3 separate regions of the Homo sapiens genome follow, and all the other regions are linked to region 2. The links are contacts of gene promoters, found by promoter capture Hi-C in blood cells and fetal thymus (Javierre and others, 2016). All regions are on one chromosome and are shown on one strand. The core of a region is centred on a gene start or on the middle of the fragment in contact, and the rest is flanking DNA. Distances in the headings are between cores, read along the strand shown. Region 1 has its middle 30 kb from the start of LSM3. Region 2 holds the start of C3orf20 (chromosome 3 open reading frame 20). Region 3 has its middle 7.5 kb from the start of NR2C2.

Region 1 (2,700 bases), core at 55-2,554, 470 kb before region 2:
TTTTAGGAACCAGTGTCCTAGATCTTGTGGTTCCCAAGGTGCGGTCTCAGATCAGCAAGAACAGCATCACCTGGGAACTTGTTAGAAATGCAGATTCTCAGGTCCTAGCCCAAGGTTATTGAATTGGAAACTTTGGAAGTAGAGCCCAGGAATATGTATCTTACCAAGCCCTCCAGGTGACTCCCATGCACACCAACTTTTGAGAACCACTGTCCTACATCCTTGGTGCTCAAGATGAGCCTTGTGGACCGGTATCATCTGCACGCCCTGGAAGCTTGTGAGACAGGCAGAGTCTCCAATGCACCCCTGTGGGCAGATCTGACCCAATGAATGAGGATCTGCACTTCACCAATATTCCTAGTCATGCATATGCACATCAGAGTTCAAGAAGCTTTCTAGCTCTGTCCCCAGAGAGGTCCTGGAAGTGGTAACACACCTGGTGGCAGGAGCCCACCCAGCCCCCAGATCTTGGATTCTAAATATCTTTTAACACCAAAAGAACCAGGCTTATTGGAGAAAGGGCTGATTCCAGGGCTGGGGCAGGGAACATACCAGATGAGCCCAAAACATCTTATTGTGCCGGAAGGCAAGGAAATACCTGAAGAATGGTGGGGCTGTGTAAAAAGACACAGAACTCAGTCTGAAGGGCTCTCATTGATCAAATCTGAGATGGTCTGATAGCAGTAGATTATAACCTAGTGAATAAAATAAAAAGCCATGAGTTCATAGTTATATAAATAAATATATGATTATATAAATAAATGGGTAGGGCCAGGCATGGCGGCTCACGCCTGAAATCCCAGTACTTTGGGAGACTGAAGCTGGAGGATCACTTGAGCCCAGGAGTTTGAGACCAGCCTGGGCAACATAGTGTGATAGTGTCTCTACAAAAAAATCAAAAAATTAGCTGGGCTTGGTCGTGTGCTTGTAGTCCCAGCTACTCAGGAGGCTGAGGTGGGAGGATCCCTTGAGTCCAGGAGGTCAAGGCTGCAGGGTACTGTGATTGCACCACTGCCCTCCAACTTGGATGACAGAGCAAGATACTGTGTCAAAAAAATAAAAATAAAAATAAATAAAGTAAATGGGGCGAAGGAAAATCTCTTCCTTACAGTACAGTGGCAACTAATAAGTTGTAGAAGATGAAGTATGCTAAAACTAGTGAGGATCAGAGCACTTACATTCTAAAAGTGCCTCCCCACAAATTACTCATTCATTAAAAAGGGGGGAAAGGCAATTTTTTAGTGGAGAAACCCGGAGGAGACCACCTAAACCAATCAACCAACGTTAATGTCCCCAACGTAGGGACAAACAGCGCCACGTGCCTCCTGCTGTGATGCACTGAGGGGGACACAACATCACTTCTGTGGTGTTCCTGCCACAACGGTGTCACCTGAAAGTAATCCTCAGGAAATATCAGCAAACCCAAATGACAGGACGTCCCACAGAATAACTGGCCTGCACTCTTTAAAAAAATGTCAGGGTCAAGAAAGACAAAGCATGGCTAAGGAACTGTTCCAGACTAAAGAAAACTAACGAAACATGAGGACTCAGTGTAATATGTGACCCTTGGCCTGGAAAAATATGTGCAATTTAAAAAGGTTATTGTTGGAGCAACTGATACCATTTAACTATGCATTGTAGATTAGATATGGACTGTGGTTATATAAGCGAATGTTCTTATTCTTAGGAAGTACACACTGAAGTATAGGGTGAAAGGGCAGTATGTTCGCACTGTGCACTCTCAAATAGTTCTGCAAAAAGTGTGTGTGTGTGTGATGTGTATATTGTATACTTAGAGAGAGAGGACAGAGAATGAGGCAAAACGTAAACAATTAGTGGATTGAGAAGACGAGATTTCCTTGTACTATGCTTGGAATTTTTCTCTACGTCTGAAATTATGTCAAAATAAAAGTCATGTCCCCTCTTCCTGCAAAAGAGACCAATGAGAGCAAACACCCAAAAGGCAGTGTTCTAGAACACTCTTGCTCCTGAGTTTGGTATGACTCTCTCCCTCTGGTCATTCAGGTCCACTTTTACATCCTATGCCTCCTCTACAGGGAGGCCACACCTAGTCCCCCAACCAGTGTACCCCCCCATTCCCAGCCCTCCTCCATTACACTCCCCTGTGTTCTTGCTCACCATAGCACTTTGTTAGTATGTGACACTATTCTTGTTTATATATTTGTCTACTCATTTACTGTCTCCTCCCACTAGAAGGTAAGCTTCATAAGCATGGAGACTCTTTCTGTCTTGATAGTCCCCTCTATGTGAAATGAATGAATGCACAAATGAACAGATCTACAGATCTGAGGCTCCGTTTGCTCATCTGCAGAACAAGGGGCTTCATCTGGATTTGGTGCAACATCTGGATTCTTTCCCCGTGCTGACACTGAAGGAAGGCATCTGGCAATGGAAGAGCTACTGTGTCATGCACATCTAAAACACTCTAGGCTTTTATTTACAGTTTCTCATTTAATCCTCACCATGATCCAGCAACAGCGGTAGGAGTACTCTTATTCTGTTCCTTCATGTAGCAGAAACGTGCCGAATGCCTGTTACCTGCTAGGCGCTTAAGAAGACAGTGCTGAGCACCAGAGGCACAGCCCCACCACCACGGAGCCTGCTGGTGAGCAGGACTGGCTGAGAAAACCGAGACTCCGAAAGCTTGCCCAACTTGCTGAAGTTATGCAGCAAGGACAT
Region 2 (2,700 bases), core at 60-2,559:
AATTTAGTTCAGTGTTTTGTGAGCCCTTTTCTGTTTCAGATCCAGTTCTTTGAGTATTGACACACCATCACAGTCTTACTGTGACACGGGCCTGTCTTGTACCAGTGTATCCAGCAGATGGCATTAGAATTCTTAAATGTCAGCTCCATACTCTTAAAACAGCACACTCCAACAGAAATAAAAAATAAATCTGTGGCGCATGCCTGTAATCCCAGCTACTTGGGAGGCTGAGGCAGGAGAATCGCTGGAGCCTGGGAGGTGGAGGTTGCCGTGAGCTGAGATTGCGCCATTGCACTTCAGCCTGGGCAACGAGTGAAACTCCGTCTCAAAATTAAAAAAAAAAAAATAAGCCCAGAGTGTCATTTTCAATTTTCTAGCAACCATATTTAAAAAGTGAAATTATAACATATTTTATTTAACTCAGCATATCCAAAATATTTCAATATGTACTCAATATATGCAAATTATTAGTGAGATCTAAAATTATTCTTCACACTAAGAATTCAAAACTCACTGTGTATCTGGTTATAGCATAATTTGGATGCTAACGTTTCATCAGGAATACTTGATCTGTATTTAGATTTTGTAAAATATGCAGTTGAAAAACACAAATTCATATCCAAGTTGTTCCAAAGATAGTTAAACATAGTAAAGTTTTTCAGTAACTGAATTGAACATCAAGTTTGAAAAAATAAAACCCAGTTCCTTAGTCATGCTAACCTTATTTCAGGTGCTCAAAGGGCCCATGCATCTAGTGCTGCTGTCCTGGACAGAGCGGCTCTAAGTGATCTGCTTTTACACGCTTTATGGTCCGACTATACATAATCCTCCCATTAGTAACTAAAGTATTGGCCAATAAATTTTTCCCAGGCATACATTAAACATTCACAATACTCTGTGGCCATGTTTAACTTGGGAGCAAGTAGTGGCAAAACCTCCTATACAAAAACGTGACCACACCTCATTCATGCCTTTGTAGAGCTAAGCAAAATGCTTTAGATCAAAAATTGCCTTGAATTATTTACGTTCATTGTAATCTCTCCTCTAGGCCTTTGTGTGTTTTGATAGAGTTCGTTTGAATTGGCTCAATAAATCATTTTATTTGCTGCAGAATTCCCAAAGAACATTCAGATCCATATACATGAGATTCCTGCTGCGTTTAGCCATACATTTGCCAGACTTGTGATGTCGTTTATTCCCTGTGAAAGCTCAAGTGCAGCCCACAGGGAGGTTTTCAGCTGACCTTGTTGTGACATGCAGATGAGGTAGTAGAGTTTAGAATTTGGAACGGGGATGGGTACTGGTCTTTACAGTTAACACAACCTGGAGTAGCCCATGCCATACTGTGTCCTTTTAAGTCAGTAAATTGAACTAAGTCGGTTATTCGGCAAGCAGTTCCTATAAAAAACTACATGGCTAAGGTGAGTGATGATCACTGAAAGGAATTCATTGACCCACTGAAAAAATGAGAGTAGATGAAACTACTGCAGTCATCCTGCCTGCCCCTGTTAGCTGGCTGAGTGAGGTGTTTTGCCCCGGTGGGCTGTGGACATTATCTTCATGTTTAAAGTGTGTGTACTGGGGGCGAGAGGCCAGGAATGATATGATGGGTGTAGGTCATTGTCTAGGAAAACTAGAAAATCCAAATGTTCAAAGGAAGTAAGGTGTTGTAGTGAAAAGCTGTCACCTGGCCTATCGATGTTCTGTTATGGTGTTTCTTAGTAAATCCCAGGCTGCATCTATATAGTCACTCATAGTAAGTGTGTGTTTGTCCAGTGGTAGGAGTGGCCAGAAATATTGCATCTGTTCCACCCTCAATTGAAACAGCTTCTTTCTCCACTGTATTTCTTTTGTTTTTGTTATTTATTTATTTATTTATTTATTTTTGGAGATGGAGTCCCGCTCTGCTGCCTAGGCTGGAGTGCAGTGGCTCACTGCAACCTCCACTCCCCGGGTTCAAGTGATTCTCCTGCCTCAGCCTCCCGAGTAGCTGGGATTACAGGCATGCACCACCACGTCCAGCTAATTTTTGTATTTTTAGTAGAAATGGGGTTTCACCCATGTTGGCCAGGCTGGTCTCGAGCTCCTGACCTCAGATGATCTATCTGCCTCATCCTCCCAAAGTGCTGGGATGACGGGTGTGAGCCACTGCACCCGGCCCTCCACTACATTTCTAATTGCCACATTCTCCCTAAGTCTGAAAGCTCACATGCTTAGTAACAGTTTGGCCAGGTTTTAAGCATTTTCTGTGGGGTGTACTGCATTCCTTCCCCCTCCCCCCCGCCTTTTTTTTTTTGGTCATTATTCCCTGCGGTTGAACAGAGCACCTCCCCGCACCCCACCCCACACCAGCCTCTCCATGCACAGCCATAGTTGTTCACGGTTTTTGAAAATCAAAAAATACAAGAGTGGACCTTGCTCCCAGCCCAGGTCTCCCAGGTTGCAAGTGAGTCTGGTAACTGTGCCACTGTCTTTGCTGGGAACCCAGGTTTTATTGCTTTTCCAAAAATAATCACCTTTTCCTTAAAAAGAAAAGGCTTTGTATCTCTGTGTCCAACTTATGATCTGCACAGGTTTCCATGGAATGTGTAATCAGTGTATACACACCATTTGGTTCTTCTTTCTTTAACATTTCTAAAACCGAGCTTCCTAGTTATTTTTAATTGTTGCCTAATAGTTCATCAGCTTAATGTACATCAT
Region 3 (2,705 bases), core at 40-2,539, 260 kb after region 2:
AGCGTCATGTAGGTGCACAAAAAGTTTCAGATTTTGGAGGATTTCAGATTAAATTTTTGGATTGGGGATGCTCAACCTACATTCTCAAACCCTTAAGAATCTGTATTGTATATGACAAGTCTGAAGATTATGGTTAACATGTATGCTATGTGAATTGACAAGTTTTGTATTGGGAAGGCAGCCATCATACCGTTGTTGCAACAGTTCCAAGAAGAGGATGTGCATGTTCACAGAACACCTCTGTGTCCTGGGGGATGCGCCTCCCGGGGAGGGGGGACTATTTTCAGAAACATAAGGCAATGCAAGCAATGCACACTCCAGAGCCTGTGGGTCATGTGAAGTCAAAGCAGTGTGGGGCAAGAGACCACAAATTTGCAACATGCTACAACCAGAATGAGGCCACTCTACCAAGGCTGCCCTATCCTTGGTAGTGCCCCACTCTACCAAAGCTGCTCCTCCCTGCCACAGGAGAAGCCTTGAGGAAGTCCCCTCTGGCTCTCTGGCTGTTCCTCTACGAGAGCTAGAGGGGACTTCCTCAAGGCTCCTCCTGTGGCCCACACCTCACCTCCTGGGGTTCCCTCTGGGTAGGTAGTCTCGGGTGGGATCCAGGCATCTTCAGTTTCTACAAGCACCTCAGGAGATTCTGTGCACAGGCAGGATGGAGGGAGGTAGGAGGGAAGATAGAGGAGGTGGTAGCTCAGCCACCATGAATAACGAATAAAAACTTAGTTCAGTCATTGGCAGTGATCTCGGTTTGTCACCAGACTGAGTCTGTGGTAGAAGTGGCAGTTTACAGGTGTATCTGCAGTGAATATTCAGATCCTTAGCTTAAGAAAGTGAGACCCAAGAGTATCTGAAAATGTTATAAGGCATGAGAACTGGCACTGGTATCATCAGACAAGATTATAAGAAGCCTTTTAGACTATGACAGTATGCCAAACATTACAGGAGAAATACACGCCCACAGTAATATTTGAGGAGGAAAACCAGTATAACTAACTGAGGTAGAAACAGCACTACACCAACATGGCACCCAGCCGGTTAAACATCTCCTTCCACAAAACTTTCCTCTGGAGAAGTTTGATGACCCTATGACCACCCTCATAATATCCTAGTGATCACATGAGATTCTGCAGAACAAATTCTCTACATGAACTTGGGATCTTCCTTGTCCAGATCATTTGAAGCTGTCATACCGGAAGGGGCATTCTGTGTTGACAGCAGAATGACATGCCTCATTCTCTAATTTTGATGGTCTTTCATGCTGCTGTTGTGATAGAGCCAGTGTAGAGAGGCAGCACTTCCACAAGAGCAAAAGAGAGGCTTGCACAAAATAAAATCTGTATGAAGCAAGCTGAAAACAAGTTTTTTTTTTTTGTTTTTGTTTTTTGTTTTAGCTTGGAGCCATGTTTTTCAAACTCTGGGAATGGGTTGCAAAATGGATGGAAATGTAATGACGTTTCCAGTTTTGTTTTTTGGCTGGCTTCAAAACTAACAAGGTTTTGGAAAAAGATATAAAATTCATGGTAAAGTTTACACAAATTCTTCTGATTCGGAAATGGATACTGTAGCAATTAAGAGAAAACCCCATTTATCTGTATTTGTAAATTATACATTATAAAAATCCTTCAGGAACTGAGAGTTCTTTAAAGTTCTATTGTAGAACTTTAAAACGTTTCATGCCAAGTGGCCCTAAAGCATTTTCAACAGTGATGACTACCCTTGTTTATATATAAAGATTACCCACTCAAATGTAAACTGCCCTAAATGACCTCAAGTTCTCATCAATATTCAAATCTCATCTTCGGTATGTTCATCAACAGCTGTATCCAAAAATCTATCTTGTGATAAAGTGTAGTCAATAAGCCCTATGCTCCTTAGAACTAAGTAACAGATACAAGCAGGAGACCAGGATGTTCAAGAATTGTCATCTCCAGTAAGTCTGTGGTCCTTCAAATCCAGTGGCCTGTACTTACCAGCCCTTAATGATGCCACACTAGAATTCATGAATGTGTAATGGAGCTATCCTGTTGTGAGCAGCATACATGAGAAAATAACTTACTTCTTGAAGGCTACAGTAATTGGCTATGCCCTAAAGCATGAGACTTGATTATTCTAACACATATAATTATGAAAGTTATTATAGGCATAAAATTAGCTCTTTTAAAAATGCAGCTACAGTACTACTCAATGTGACCCTGAATCTTACTTTGTGGCCACATGTAGGTGTTCACACTGACAGCAAGTATTAATCACAGACATATAAGGGAACCTTTCAGATGACTCCAGCCATGTGACCATGAGGGATGCCAAGAGAGAACAACTTGACTCCCCTAGAATTAAAAGATTTTCATTAAAAAAAAAAAAAGTGACTGTTAGTCTTTAGGCCATTGAGTTTGGGTGTGATTAATTATGCAATAGATGACTAGAAAACATGCATTTCTTAGCTCCCTCTTCAAATTCACTAAAGCCAGCAAGTGAATAAAAAGATATAACCCAAAGGATAGTTCTAGAGGAGACACAAGGTATAGAAAATGTCAACCCATTTTTGGAAGATATAACATGCAGACACAAGAAAATAATCACCAAAGTGCTTCAGACGGGGATGCCAGTGAAGACACAAAAGGGCTTCTGCCCCTGGAGGCTCACAAACTGGAGGCACAGGTGTCTTGGAAGGCCAGGATGGGACTGAAGACGGGGATCAG

Evidence for each region. The method cuts DNA at HindIII sites, captures the fragments that hold promoters and counts their contacts. A CHiCAGO score of 5 or more calls a contact.
Region 1: a contact is called between a fragment that was not itself captured here and the fragment with the promoter of C3orf20 in region 2, in 1 of 17 cell types (neutrophils). The highest score is 5.4, in neutrophils.
Region 3: a fragment that was not itself captured here is called in contact with the fragment with the promoter of C3orf20 in region 2 in 7 of 17 cell types (fetal thymus, naive CD8 T cells, megakaryocytes and 4 more); the score reaches 7.2 in fetal thymus.

What each region holds. Positions count from the first base shown.
Region 1 is chr3:14,207,397-14,210,096 of GRCh38, forward strand. No RefSeq gene overlaps it. Among named protein-coding and RNA genes, the nearest start is that of LSM3, 30 kb to the left of the region's middle. RefSeq lists enhancers at 2,198-2,698, 2,699-2,700. The HindIII fragment of the contact is 1,831 bases long and covers 390-2,220 here.
Region 2 is chr3:14,673,832-14,676,531 of GRCh38, forward strand. C3orf20 (chromosome 3 open reading frame 20) reads left to right here and starts at 1,310. Exons shown (of 17, transcript NM_032137.5): 1 at 1,310-1,421. The HindIII fragment of the contact is 9,428 bases long and covers 1-2,700 here.
Region 3 is chr3:14,938,764-14,941,468 of GRCh38, forward strand. No RefSeq gene overlaps it. Among named protein-coding and RNA genes, the nearest start is that of NR2C2, 7.5 kb to the right of the region's middle. The HindIII fragment of the contact is 5,767 bases long and covers 1-2,705 here.